Regions from separate parts of the Homo sapiens genome. Here all the other regions are linked to region 2. The links are contacts of gene promoters, found by promoter capture Hi-C in blood cells and fetal thymus (Javierre and others, 2016). All regions are on one chromosome and are shown on one strand. The core of a region is centred on a gene start or on the middle of the fragment in contact, and the rest is flanking DNA. Distances in the headings are between cores, read along the strand shown. Region 1 holds the start of PLK3 (polo like kinase 3). Region 2 holds the start of TESK2 (testis associated actin remodelling kinase 2). Region 3 has its middle 4.2 kb from the start of PTCH2.

Region 1 (3,735 bases), core at 873-3,372, 690 kb before region 2:
GCATCACTGCACTCCAGCCTGGGTAACAGAGCAAGACTCTGTCTCAAAAAACAAACAAAACAAAACAAAACAAAATAAATAACGGTGCAAAATTGAATATGCCTTTTTGACTCTCTAAATGCCTCAGATCCATTTACCCTGGGGATTTGTCCTTTCTAGCCCCACCACCATCTCCCCTCTGGAAGACTGCTGACCTATAAGGATAAAGACCAGACTCTTGAGCAGGCACTTAGGGTCTTCCTGCCCATCCCTATCCCCAACTCCCCCTCAGTAATTTTGGCTACTAGTATTTCTCCACATCTGAGGCTATCGTGGGTCTCCCTTCAGTGGTCATGAAGGACAAGGTTGGAGAAGTTTGCCCTCGTGAGTCTGATGAGGGATTGGGTGGGATCCCTCTAATAGCATATGGAGGGGATGAAATGGGCATGAGACCAAAGGCCAGGAGAGCAGCAAGGAGCTGTGGCAATCATCCTGACAAGAGAGACTGTGGCCCAGGCCAGGGTGTGAGGGGAAGATGGAGCCAAGGGGATAGATATCAGAGCTATTTGGGAGGTAAAATTGGCACAAATTGGGTACTCAGCAAATATTTGTTGACTTTCCTGGCTACTCTTTCTAAAGTAGGCTCTTCATTTGCTCTTCTGTTTATTCTTCCTTCATAGCACTTTTCACAGCCTGCAATTACCTTGTTTATCTGCTTGCCTATTGTCTGTTTCCATCAAGCAGAATGTAAACTAAATGAGGGCTGCAAGCTTGATTAGTTTTATTCGAGATAGTGTCCAGCACTTAGCAGATGCTCTCAATAAATCTTTGAGGAATGGCATGGTAATTGATTGGCTGGCACAGAGGGAGGGCAGAGAGGTGAGAGACAAGGCCAGGAGGCCTGTGGTCCTGGGCCTCTGTCTCTGGCCCTGGGAAGGGTGGGCATTGCGCAGGGGTCTAGGGGTCCACGTGGTCCAGAGACTAGCTGCCCAAGTGCCCGTGTCTAGCATTTGAGAAAATGCAATTCCCAGCCAGGCAAGGTGGCTCACGCCTGTAATCCCAGCACTTTGGGACGCCGAAGCGGGTAGATCACCTGAGGTTGGGAGTTCCAGACCAGTCTGACCAACATGGAGAAACCCCGTCTCTACTTAAAAAAAAAAAAATACAAAATTAGCCGGGTGTGATGGCGCATGCCTGTAATCCCAGCTGCTCGGGAGGCTGAGGCAGGAGAATCGCTTGAACCTGGGAGGCAGAGTTTGCGATGAGCCAAGATCGCGCCATTGCACTCCAGCCTAGGCAACAAGAGCGAAACTCTGTCTCAAAAAAAAAAAAAAGAAAGAAAGAAAGAAAAAAGAAAATCCAATTCCCATTCACTTTCTGGCCTCTGGCTGCTGACCCAGGCCCGGGGGTATTTTCAGAGGAAGGGAATTGCGGACCCCGGAGGAACCCGAAATTTGCCCCTCAAGAGTGTAGAAGTGGGTAGCGGAAGATGTGGCCTGGAGCATGGTAAAAGCCTTGAAATTCCAGACTCTGCTTGACTCCTAAACCTGGCAAGGCAGCCCTCGGGCCAGGCAAGCCAGGCGCGAGACTGTGCCTTCCTTCCAGGCCCTAAAGAGGGCAGCACTGGGCCGGGCCCCGGGCGAGGGCGAGGGACACACGCGGTCCGGCACACTGAAAGGGGAGTGTCGGGTAACATGCCCGGGCAAAAGCGAGCGCCGCCCCTGCCTCTCCGCTGCTGGCTGGAACGCTGATCTATCTAGTTGCTGGGGAGACGCCCCCAGATGCCCGGGCCCCACTCGGACTTCAGCACACATCCCGAAGGATGGGGAAAGAAAGAGGCCCCCACGAGCGGGACTCGCAGTGGCCAAGGAGGGGTGAGAGGCGGACAGGGATCAGCTGGCCCCTGCGGCCTGGTTGCACCTGCATGGTGACTAGCTGCCGGGCTGCGCCCCGGGGCGCGGCGAGGAGGCGGGGTCTGGCAGTGCGTTGGGTGGGGGAGGAGCTTCTGGGTGATGTAAGGCCGGGAATGGGAGTGGCCTCTCCTCGACTCGCTGCTAGGAAGGGGGCGGGACTCTCGGTGACCAGACGCCGGGGAGGGGGCAGGCGTTCATTGATAAAACGCTGGGCTCCCCTGGGCGCCAGCGCAGCGTAGCAAATCCAGGCAGCGCCACGCGCGGCCGGGGCCGGGCGGAACCGAGAAGCCGGGACCGCGCTGCGACGCGCCGGCCGCATGGAGCCTGCCGCCGGTTTCCTGTCTCCGCGCCCCTTCCAGCGTGCGGCCGCCGCGCCCGCTCCCCCGGCCGGGCCCGGGCCGCCTCCGAGTGCCTTGCGCGGACCTGAGCTGGAGATGCTGGCCGGGCTACCGACGTCAGACCCCGGGCGCCTCATCACGGACCCGCGCAGCGGCCGCACCTACCTCAAAGGCCGCTTGTTGGGCAAGGTGGGCCGAGGGACGTCCGCGGGGTGGTGATGGTGGAGGTGGGGGTCCCGGCCGGCCTCTTTTCTGGCGCCGAGCAGGGCGTGGGCACTTGACCCCCAACGCGGGGACGCCCGCGGGCCAGACTCGGCCCCCCTGGAACAACCAGCCTGATGCCCCCTCTTCACAGGGGGGCTTCGCCCGCTGCTACGAGGCCACTGACACAGAGACTGGCAGCGCCTACGCTGTCAAAGTCATCCCGCAGAGCCGCGTCGCCAAGCCGCATCAGCGCGAGAAGGTGGGTCCAGGCTCAGCGGGCGAGGGGTGGGGTGGGGACGGTGGCATGGGAACCATGGAAGGATGACGACTCCGCGCCCTCATCGCAGATCCTAAATGAGATTGAGCTGCACCGAGACCTGCAGCACCGCCACATCGTGCGTTTTTCGCACCACTTTGAGGACGCTGACAACATCTACATTTTCTTGGAGCTCTGCAGCCGAAAGGTGAAAGATGGTGATTCCCGCAGGGATGAGAGTGAGGGAGAGAAGACAGTCTTTTTTTTTTTTTTTTTTTTTTTTGAGATGGAGTCTTGCTCTGTTGCCCAGGCTGGAGTGCAGTGGCGCGATCTCGGCTCACTGCAATCTCTGCCTCCCGGGTTCAAGCAATTCTCCTGCCTCAGCCTCCTGAGTAGCTGGGATTACAGGCATGCACCACCACGCCCGGCTAATTTTTGTATTTTTAGTAGAGACAGGGTTTCACCCTGTTGGTCAGGCTGGTCTCAAACTCCTGACCTTGTGATACACCTGCCTTGGCCTCCCAAAGTGCTGGGATTACAGGCGTGAGCCACTACACCCAGCCGAGAAGACAGTCTTAAGACCCAAAGCTGGGGCCCTGTTTCTTCCTCAGGGAGCACAGATGGAGGGGGAGGGGGAGGGAGGGCTCACCAGGGGCTGAGGCAGTGGCTCTCTGCAGTCCCTGGCCCACATCTGGAAGGCCCGGCACACCCTGTTGGAGCCAGAAGTGCGCTACTACCTGCGGCAGATCCTTTCTGGCCTCAAGTACTTGCACCAGCGCGGCATCTTGCACCGGGACCTCAAGTTGGGTGAGACTCCTGAGCCTGGAGGATGGGAGGTTGGGGAGGGAGGGAGGGAGGGAGGAAGGAAAGAATCTGACACACCTCTCTTGCCCCATCTAGGAAATTTTTTCATCACTGAGAACATGGAACTGAAGGTGGGGGATTTTGGGCTGGCAGCCCGGTTGGAGCCTCCGGAGCAGAGGAAGAAGTGAGTTTTGAGGAAAGGGGCCCTGTGTGTGATACAGATGACATGCGTGATAGACAG
Region 2 (3,891 bases), core at 158-2,657:
CTCCAGCCTGGGTGACAGAATGAGACTCCGTCAAAAAAAACAAAAACTAACAAACAAACCCTGAAACTTAACTTGTTCAAAACCAAATTTATTACCTTCTCTCAAAATTGCTTTTTTATGCTCCCTATTTCAGATGAGATCAGGAGCGTTGAGGGTGGTATAACCAGAGACTATGTTCCCTATTTCAATTAACACTACCGATTCACACCATCAGCCAAGTCAGAAACTTTCTACTATTCTTCTCAACTTTATTTTGAAACCTCTTGGAATTTCGGGCCATTCCCTCCCGCCTGGATGAGCACACTCGTTTTCTGCCTACCTGGCCTTTCCGCCTCCACGGTCTTCACTTTCAATCCTTCCTCTATATTTTCACCAAAGATAATGCAATCATACCAAGCTCCTGCTTACAAAACCTTCAACGGCTCCCCATGCATGCAGCATGAAGTCCAAATTCCTCAGCAAGTTCTTCTCAGAGGTATACAATTTAAAGACTTTTAAATTACGCAAACCTGGATTTCGCTTGTAGCGAAATCTGAACACTGGCTTAGTCCACTCTTCACAGCGAAGAGTAAAAAGCAGAGAGGGGAAAGGAAGGGAGACGATGACAAGCGAGGAAAGAAGAGGGGGAAGGCAGTAGGGTCTGAGGGGAGGGAATTGTTTTCCTGGGTAGAGGTGAACGTTTTCGAGGGAAGAGTGTATCGGAGGGAAGTCAAGTGAAGGAACCCAGATCTCTGAGGCAGGAGCGGGTATGCGAGCAGGGAGGCGCTCAGTGGGGAGCTGGAAGTCTCTGAAACAAGAGTTTTCCGAGAAAACGAAAGATCCCTAATGCGAGCGAGGTAACTTCTAATGGGTTCCCAGGTTCTAAGGGGGAGCAGACGTGGCGGGGAGCCTGAGGGAAGTGAGAAGGAAAGGGGAAAGCGGCCAGGAAGGGAGCGTCCGCCGCCGCTGAGAGGGGGACCTCTGGGAAGCCGAGGGGTCCCGTCGGGTGCGGAGGGACGCAGGCGCCTCTGCTCCGGGGCAGAGGAGGTGGAGCGGCAGCGCGCGCGGGCCAGGCAGGATGCCCGGGTTTGTGACCCCCGTCCTCTTTTCACGTTACCTGAGGCAGGACTGAGCAGCCAGAGGGGTGCCTGCGCGGGCAAGAGGAGGAGACGGCGGCAAAGAGGGAGCATAGTAACCCTCACAGCTCGTTGGTGGCAGCGGCTCCTTAGCCTGCGGAGGCGGTGGGAGCCCCTAGCGCAGAAGCCGGCGACTCAGCTAGGCTAGCGGCGGCGGCGAACGAGGAGACTACTGCCATGGCCCCACAGTCGGGGCCGCTCCCCCCGCCTGTTTGGCGGGGCCAGGAGGACGATCCGACCAGCGAAGCCAACAGGGCAGCTGGTAGCTCTGCTGAGCTCCCGGGCCGCGAAAGACTGAAACGCCTACCCGGCCCAGCAGGGGGGTTGGGGGCGGGGTCTCGGCTGGCCACGCCCCTCCCTCAAGCCCTCCCTCAGAGTAGCCAGTCAACCGTCAACTCCTGATAAACGAGGTAGTGGAATTGCCCAATTAGCGCTAGGAATGCCACGTGGTATGAGGGTGGGCACAATGGGCGTCCAGAAAAGCCAATCAACAGCCGTAGGTGCCAACTCCGGAGGACGAAGGGAACCAATAGGAAGGAAGTCGAGGTAAAAACAGAAGAAGCAGTGTGTGGGAAAGGCGGAACCGAGGAGGAGGGAATACACCTGGGGGAAACCCAAGTCCAGGAGCCTCTTAGAGGGCGGGGCAGTAAACACAAGATGGACCAATAAAAATGTTAAACACAGAAATGATTGGTAATTGATAAAGCCAATAGAAAATGGACTAGACTGGCGCGGCTTTCGGGTTGGTCAAGGTATAGCTGAGTAAGGAAAAGCGGTAAGAATGCTGCGTCCTGCAGGATTTCAGTATAGTGAGGAGGAAAAAATATATCAATAATACCGACTTGAAATAGTAAGAGCAATCAGTAGAGCTAAACAAAATGCTAGGGAAGCAATTAATCATGACTATGAGATTCGGTTAAGTGAAAGCTTAGAGGAGGTAACACTTCAGCTAGCTTGAAAACAGATTTTGAAAGAAAGCTGGTGGGGAATAAGTTGGGATTTTTTGTTGTTTTTGTTGGTTGTTTTTTTTTTAGAAGGGTCTCACTCTGTCGCCCAGGATGATGGAGTGCAATGGAGCGATCATGGCTCACTTGCAGCCTCAAACTCCTGGATTAAGATGATCCTCCCAACTCAGCCTCCCCGGATAGCTGGGACTACAGGCACACGCCAGCATGCCTGACTAATTTTTTGTATATTTTGTAGAGACGGGGTTTACCATGTTGCCCAGGCTGGTCTGTAACTCCTGGACTCAAGTGATCGGCCCACGTTGGCCTACGAAAGTGCCGGGATTACAGGCGTGAGCCACCGCTCCCAGCTAAGAATTCTGCCCAGCTGTTCAAGGCACATATTTCTTCACTTTTTGCATGTGCCTGGACATCAGGAGCTCATAATCTCATGACTGAAGAGACTAGAACAGGAGGAGGGCAAGAGCAAGCAGTATGGGCCTTACTGTATTAGCACTCCCAGGGGTTAGAGACCCCTTTTCAGACATCTTAAGACTTTCATCCTCCTGGAAGAGTATAAGTGGTATGCATTCCTGGTGGCCATAAAGTTTAAGAAATATGGCCAGGGCCGGGAGCAGTGGATCACGCCTGTAATCCCACCACTTTGGGAGGCCGAGGCAGGGGGATCACGAAGTCAGAAGATCGAGACCATCCTGGCAAACATGGTGAAACCTCGTCTCTACTAAAAATAGAAAAATTAGCTGGGTGTATTGGCGCGTGCCTGTAGTCCCAGCTACTCAGGAGGCTGAGGCAAGAGAATCGCTTGAGCCCGGGAAGCAGAAGTTGCAGTGAGCCAAGATCGCACCACTGCACTCCAGCCTGGGCGACACAGCAAGTCTCCGTCTCAAAAAAAAAAAAAAAAAAAAAATATGGCCAGACACAGTGATTCACTTCTGTAATCTCAGCACTTTGGGAGGCCAAGGTGGATCACTTGAAGCCAGGAGTTTGAGACCAGCCTGGGCAACATAGCGAGACCCTGTCTGTACAGAAAAAAAAAAAAAAATGAGCCCAAAATGGTGGCATGTACCTGTGGTCCTAGCTACTTGGGAGGCTAAAGCCAGAAGATCACCTGAGCCCAGAGGTCAAGGCTACAGTGAGCTGTGGATGGTGCCACTGCACTCCAGCCTGGACAACAGAGCAGGACCCTGTCCCAAAAAAATATAAAAAGAAAGAAAGAAGTGTGGTAGGAGATATTGGAGAGAGAAGAGGCTGCATGTGGGTTGGGCTTAAATGCCAATATTCAAATTTGTCTTTTGTTTTTTATGCTGTGAGAGCTATTCTTGAGCAGGACCATAAACTAAACAGGGCAGTGTTTTAGGAAGATTAATTGGTAGCTCACAGAATCTCTGAAGGGAGAAGAGAGATCACCCCAGCCCAGTCCCCCTGACCAAAGGCTTTTTGGTACCATTCTTCTGGCAACAAATCATGTGCTGCCACCTGGTGACAGCTCAAATAACAATTTTCCACATTGCTATTTAATATTTCTGTTGAGGTTGGGTGTGTGGGCTCAGACCTGTAATCCCAAGGGCTTTGGGAGACTGAGGTAGGAGGATCTCTTGAGCCCAAGGGTTTGAGACCAGCCTGGGCAACATAGTGAGACACATCTCTACAAACAAAAATCCTTTTATAATTAGCTGGGTGTGGCATCACATGCCTGTAGTACTAGCTACTAGGGAAGCTGAGGCAGGAGGATCACTTGAGCCCAGGAGTTCAAGACCAGCCTAGGCAAGATGGCGAAACCCTGTCTTTACAAAAAGTACAAAAAATTAGCT
Region 3 (3,769 bases), core at 386-2,885, 640 kb before region 2:
TGGCATGGTAGCTCATGCTTGTAATCCCAGCCCTTTGGGAAGCTGAGGCGGGAGGATTGCTTGAGGCCAGGAGTTCAAGCCCTGGCAACATAGTGAGACCCCATCTCTACAAAAAATAAAAAATTAGCTGGGTGTGGTGGCGCACACCTGTAGTCCCAGCTACTTGGGAGGCTGAGGCAGGAGAGTTGATAGAGGCTGCAGCGAGCTGTGATTGTGCCATTGCACTCCAGCCTGGGCGACAAAGTGAGACCCTGCCTCAAAAAACAATAATAATGATAACATAAAAAATTTAAGGTTAAAAAGAACTGTACCCCTAGCAAGTCTCTGAAATAGAAACAGCCTCTAACTTAAGTCTGTATGGGCCCCTAGTTTGCTCTTGGGGCAATAGCTGAAGACAGGGAGTGGCCTGGACTCAGCACTGGTTGTCATCAGGAGTACAACTCCCGATGCTATGCTTTAAGTAAGTCTTAATCTCCTTCCTTTTTACCAGACTCTGCAAGACATAAGGTCCATGGATAAATAGATTTGTAACCACTTGGGCCTTGGGACTCTGCTTTCATCATAGGCCCATCACTGCTAACAATTGTGACAAAGTCCACCATTTCTATGGATGCTTCCAAGGCCAAGTCTGTCTATTAAGGAAACCTCTTGCCTTATAGTTCAAAGACTAGGATGGAAGAAATGGGTCTACAGTTTCCAGCCTTTCCAACCTAGGGCCTAGTGCTGTCTGGCTGCTCCAAGCTACAAAATGACCTGTCTTCTCCCAAACAAAATGGTTTCCTGAGCCCAGCTAAGCTCAGCCAGAGCCAAAGCCATAGACCCCAGGAATAGGAAGGGATAAAGAGGCTTCTCTTCTCTTTCTGCAAGCAGCCTCCTTTATGATAGAACAGCTTGTTTCACTGTCATTTCCACTGGTCCTGGGTACGTGTTTTGGGCCTAAACTAGAGATATTCTCCAAATAACAGGATAAAAGCAATCTAATTAAATCTCATTACTGACTCATGAAACAAACGTCTTGGGATCTCCTTTTTTTAAATTTTTTCAATGAGACAGGGTCTCATTCTGTCACCCAGGCTGCAGTGCAGTGGCATGATCTTGGTGCACTGCAGCCTCTACTGCCCAGGCTCAAGTGATCCTCCCATCTCAGCCTCCCGAGTAGCTGGGACCACAGGCGCGTGACACCACGCCTGGCTAATTTTTTTGTATTTTAGTAGAGACAGAGTTTCACCGTTTTGCCCAGGCTGGTCTTGAACTCTGAGCTCAGGCAATCCACCCGCCTCGGCCTCCCAAAGTGCTGGGATTACAGGCATGAGCCACCGCGCCCAGCCTTGGGATCTCTTATGTGTCCATTCCTTTGCTGGGTTCTGGTGTTGCAGGGTACCTGCTTTTTAGAAGTTCATAGCCTGAGGGGGAGCACAGAGACCACAGGGGAAACCACTGAGTTGGGGGTACTCAGGGATGTTTCCAGAAGTGAAAGGAACTGGATGGGAGAGGTGGGAGGATGACAGAATCTAAAAGGAAAAGGAATGGCTCATGGTCTGGATCTTTCATTTGCTGGTTGTGAGATCTCAGGGAAGTCACATAATCTCTGACATTAACATAAGGATTAAATGAGATAATACATATGGCTGAGGAACAGTGCCAGGAAAAGTGAGGCAGCCCACACTCACATACACACAGTGCTGGGTAAAGTGACCAGTCTGGCTTCAGGGGTGGGTTCATGTGGGAGTTAATTCATGGTGGAGGCAAGGCAGGCTTGCTTTCTCTGGCATTCCTCTAGGCTTCTCACTCGCCAGCTTTTGGCTGCTTCTGTTATCTAGGCCAAGCAGAGTCAATGACCCTGAGATGTGGAGGAGGGAAGTGGGGGTCCTGGGCAGCCCCATCACCACCTGTTATATTTAGGGGCCAAGCCTGGGTATGTATGCTCCTTCCCTGTGGGCAGGTTGAGGCCAATAGCACCTATCAAGTATTTGTTTGTTTGAGATGGAGTTTTGCTCTTGTTGCTCAGGCTGGAGTGCAGTGGTGCCATCTTGGCTAACTATAACCTTCACCTCCTGGGTTCAAGCGATTCTCCTGCCTCAGCCTCCTGAATAGCTGGGATTACAGGCGCCCGCCACCACGTCGGGCTAACTTTTTGTATTTTTAGTAGGGATGGGGTTTCATCATGGTGGCCAGGCTGGTCTTGAACTCCTGACCTCAGGTGATCCACCCACCTTGGCCTCCCAAAGTGCAGGGATTACAGGCGTGAGCCACCGCGCCTGGCGTACCTATCAAGTATTTGGTGCCAGGGCTGCAGCCAGAGATTAGGGAATGGTCCTTCACTTTAAGTGTGGGGGAAGGAGACAGGCTAAGAACAAATGCAGCCTCTCTCTATTTATCCATGGCAGAAAGGCCCCGATGCAATCATCCTGGGTAGTGGCAGATGGCTCAGGCCAAGGACAGGTCATACTGGCTTCCAGTAGAATGTGTTCTCCTGCCCAGTCTCTCTCCCTCTGGGTCAGCTTCATTAGAGCAGAGCTTTCTAGACTTTCTGTCTGGGTGGTCCTTTCCATGGGCCTCCCCCTTCCTCAGACACATTTAACTATTTAGAAAGCTGCATACAAAGGCCTGGTTTATGTACCTCCTTAGGAGTAGGGATAGCTGTGGATAAAGAAAGTGTATCCCCTGCAATTCTCTGGAAATAGAAACAACTTCTCAACTAGGCCATGCAGGCCCTAGATTCCTGTTGGGGCTACAGCTAAACACAATTTCCCTCTCTCCACTGAGTATGGAAGTGGGATGGTAATAGTAAAGTAGTGAAGAACTGGGAAGAAGTTCGACCTTTGGCCTTGGGGAACAGCTTGGAGGGCAATCTTGGCAGTCTTATAGGCTCACAGGAGCTTATGGGCCCTCACTTCAAGTATGGGGAAAGGAGAGAGGCTAAGAACCAATGCAGCAGCTCCCCATTTATCCATGGCAGAAGGCCCCTGATGCAATCATCCTGGGTAGTGGCAGTCTTCTCGGCTCAAGGAACTCTTGCCAGCAGGCAAGGATGAATTGTAACTGGGGGATGGATTCCTGGAGTAGCAGCTGTCAAGTTTTGTCTGACCCGGCAAGCTCCCGGAACCCTGTTCCTCAGCACATCCCCAGGGTCCTCCCTGATTCGGCATTCGAGGTCCCCTTTCTCCTCTTCCTCCACTTCCCTCATTGAGCATCACTGGGAGAGGCAGGGCAGACCCTATTAACTCTTCTGCCTGCCTTGCTTTTCTGATTTCTGTCCATGGAGAGGTGGCCGGCCAGTGGACATTCAGTTGCTCACTATGTTTCAGACATACTCAGCCCCTCTGTAGCTGCTACCAAAAGAAAACAAAAACTGTCCCTGCCTTCTGGCAGACAAACAGGGCAAAGAGAAGAAAAATCAAAGCATCTTGGGCACCCAGCCAGTCCTGGAACTGTCAGACAATAGCAGCAGTGTCCTGAGCTGGGGGCTGCTCCCAGCTGGGACTCAAACTCAACAACACCTTCCTCTGGGAAAGCTTTTACCTTTTGTTTTCTCCAGCTCCTTCCTTTCCTTGATGCAGAGGCCGTTCCATGGACTTGTGCAAAGGGAAGGCACAGGAGAGGTTTTTCCTCTGTCTCACTGTCAGGGGTTCTAAGGGCTCCATGGGGAAGGACAGGAAAGGGTACATAGGAGGGCTCTGAGACAGTTTAATCAATGCCCTTTACTCCTCCACCGCACTTTCCCTCCCAACCCTTTTCTCTGCTCAAGGAGCAATCTTCTGGCTCCTTG

Evidence for each region. The method cuts DNA at HindIII sites, captures the fragments that hold promoters and counts their contacts. A CHiCAGO score of 5 or more calls a contact.
Region 1: the fragment with the promoter of PLK3 here is called in contact with the fragment with the promoter of TESK2 in region 2 in 17 of 17 cell types (naive CD4 T cells, total CD8 T cells, non-activated CD4 T cells and 14 more); the score reaches 20.8 in naive CD4 T cells.
Region 3: a contact is called between a fragment that was not itself captured here and the fragment with the promoter of TESK2 in region 2, in 7 of 17 cell types (fetal thymus, naive CD4 T cells, endothelial precursors and 4 more). The highest score is 7.8, in fetal thymus.

Annotation. Positions count from the first base shown.
Region 1 is chr1:44,798,255-44,801,989 of GRCh38, forward strand. PLK3 (polo like kinase 3) reads left to right here and starts at 2,123. Exons shown (of 15, transcript NM_004073.4): 1 at 2,123-2,419; 2 at 2,586-2,693; 3 at 2,782-2,898; 4 at 3,368-3,497; 5 at 3,591-3,678. The coding sequence starts at 2,210. RefSeq lists enhancers at 1,127-1,795, 1,480-1,539, 1,590-1,979, 2,750-2,799 and a silencer at 2,080-2,359. The HindIII fragment of the contact is 10,835 bases long and covers 748-3,735 here.
Region 2 is chr1:45,489,756-45,493,646 of GRCh38, forward strand. It overlaps TESK2 (testis associated actin remodelling kinase 2), which reads right to left and starts at 1,408. Exons shown (of 11, transcript NM_007170.3): 1 at 1,097-1,408. RefSeq lists enhancers at 1,066-1,115, 1,402-1,696 and a silencer at 1,346-1,565. The HindIII fragment of the contact is 2,357 bases long and covers 1-2,040 here.
Region 3 is chr1:44,845,563-44,849,331 of GRCh38, forward strand. No RefSeq gene overlaps it. Among named protein-coding and RNA genes, the nearest start is that of PTCH2, 4.2 kb to the left of the region's middle. The HindIII fragment of the contact is 3,756 bases long and covers 1-3,513 here.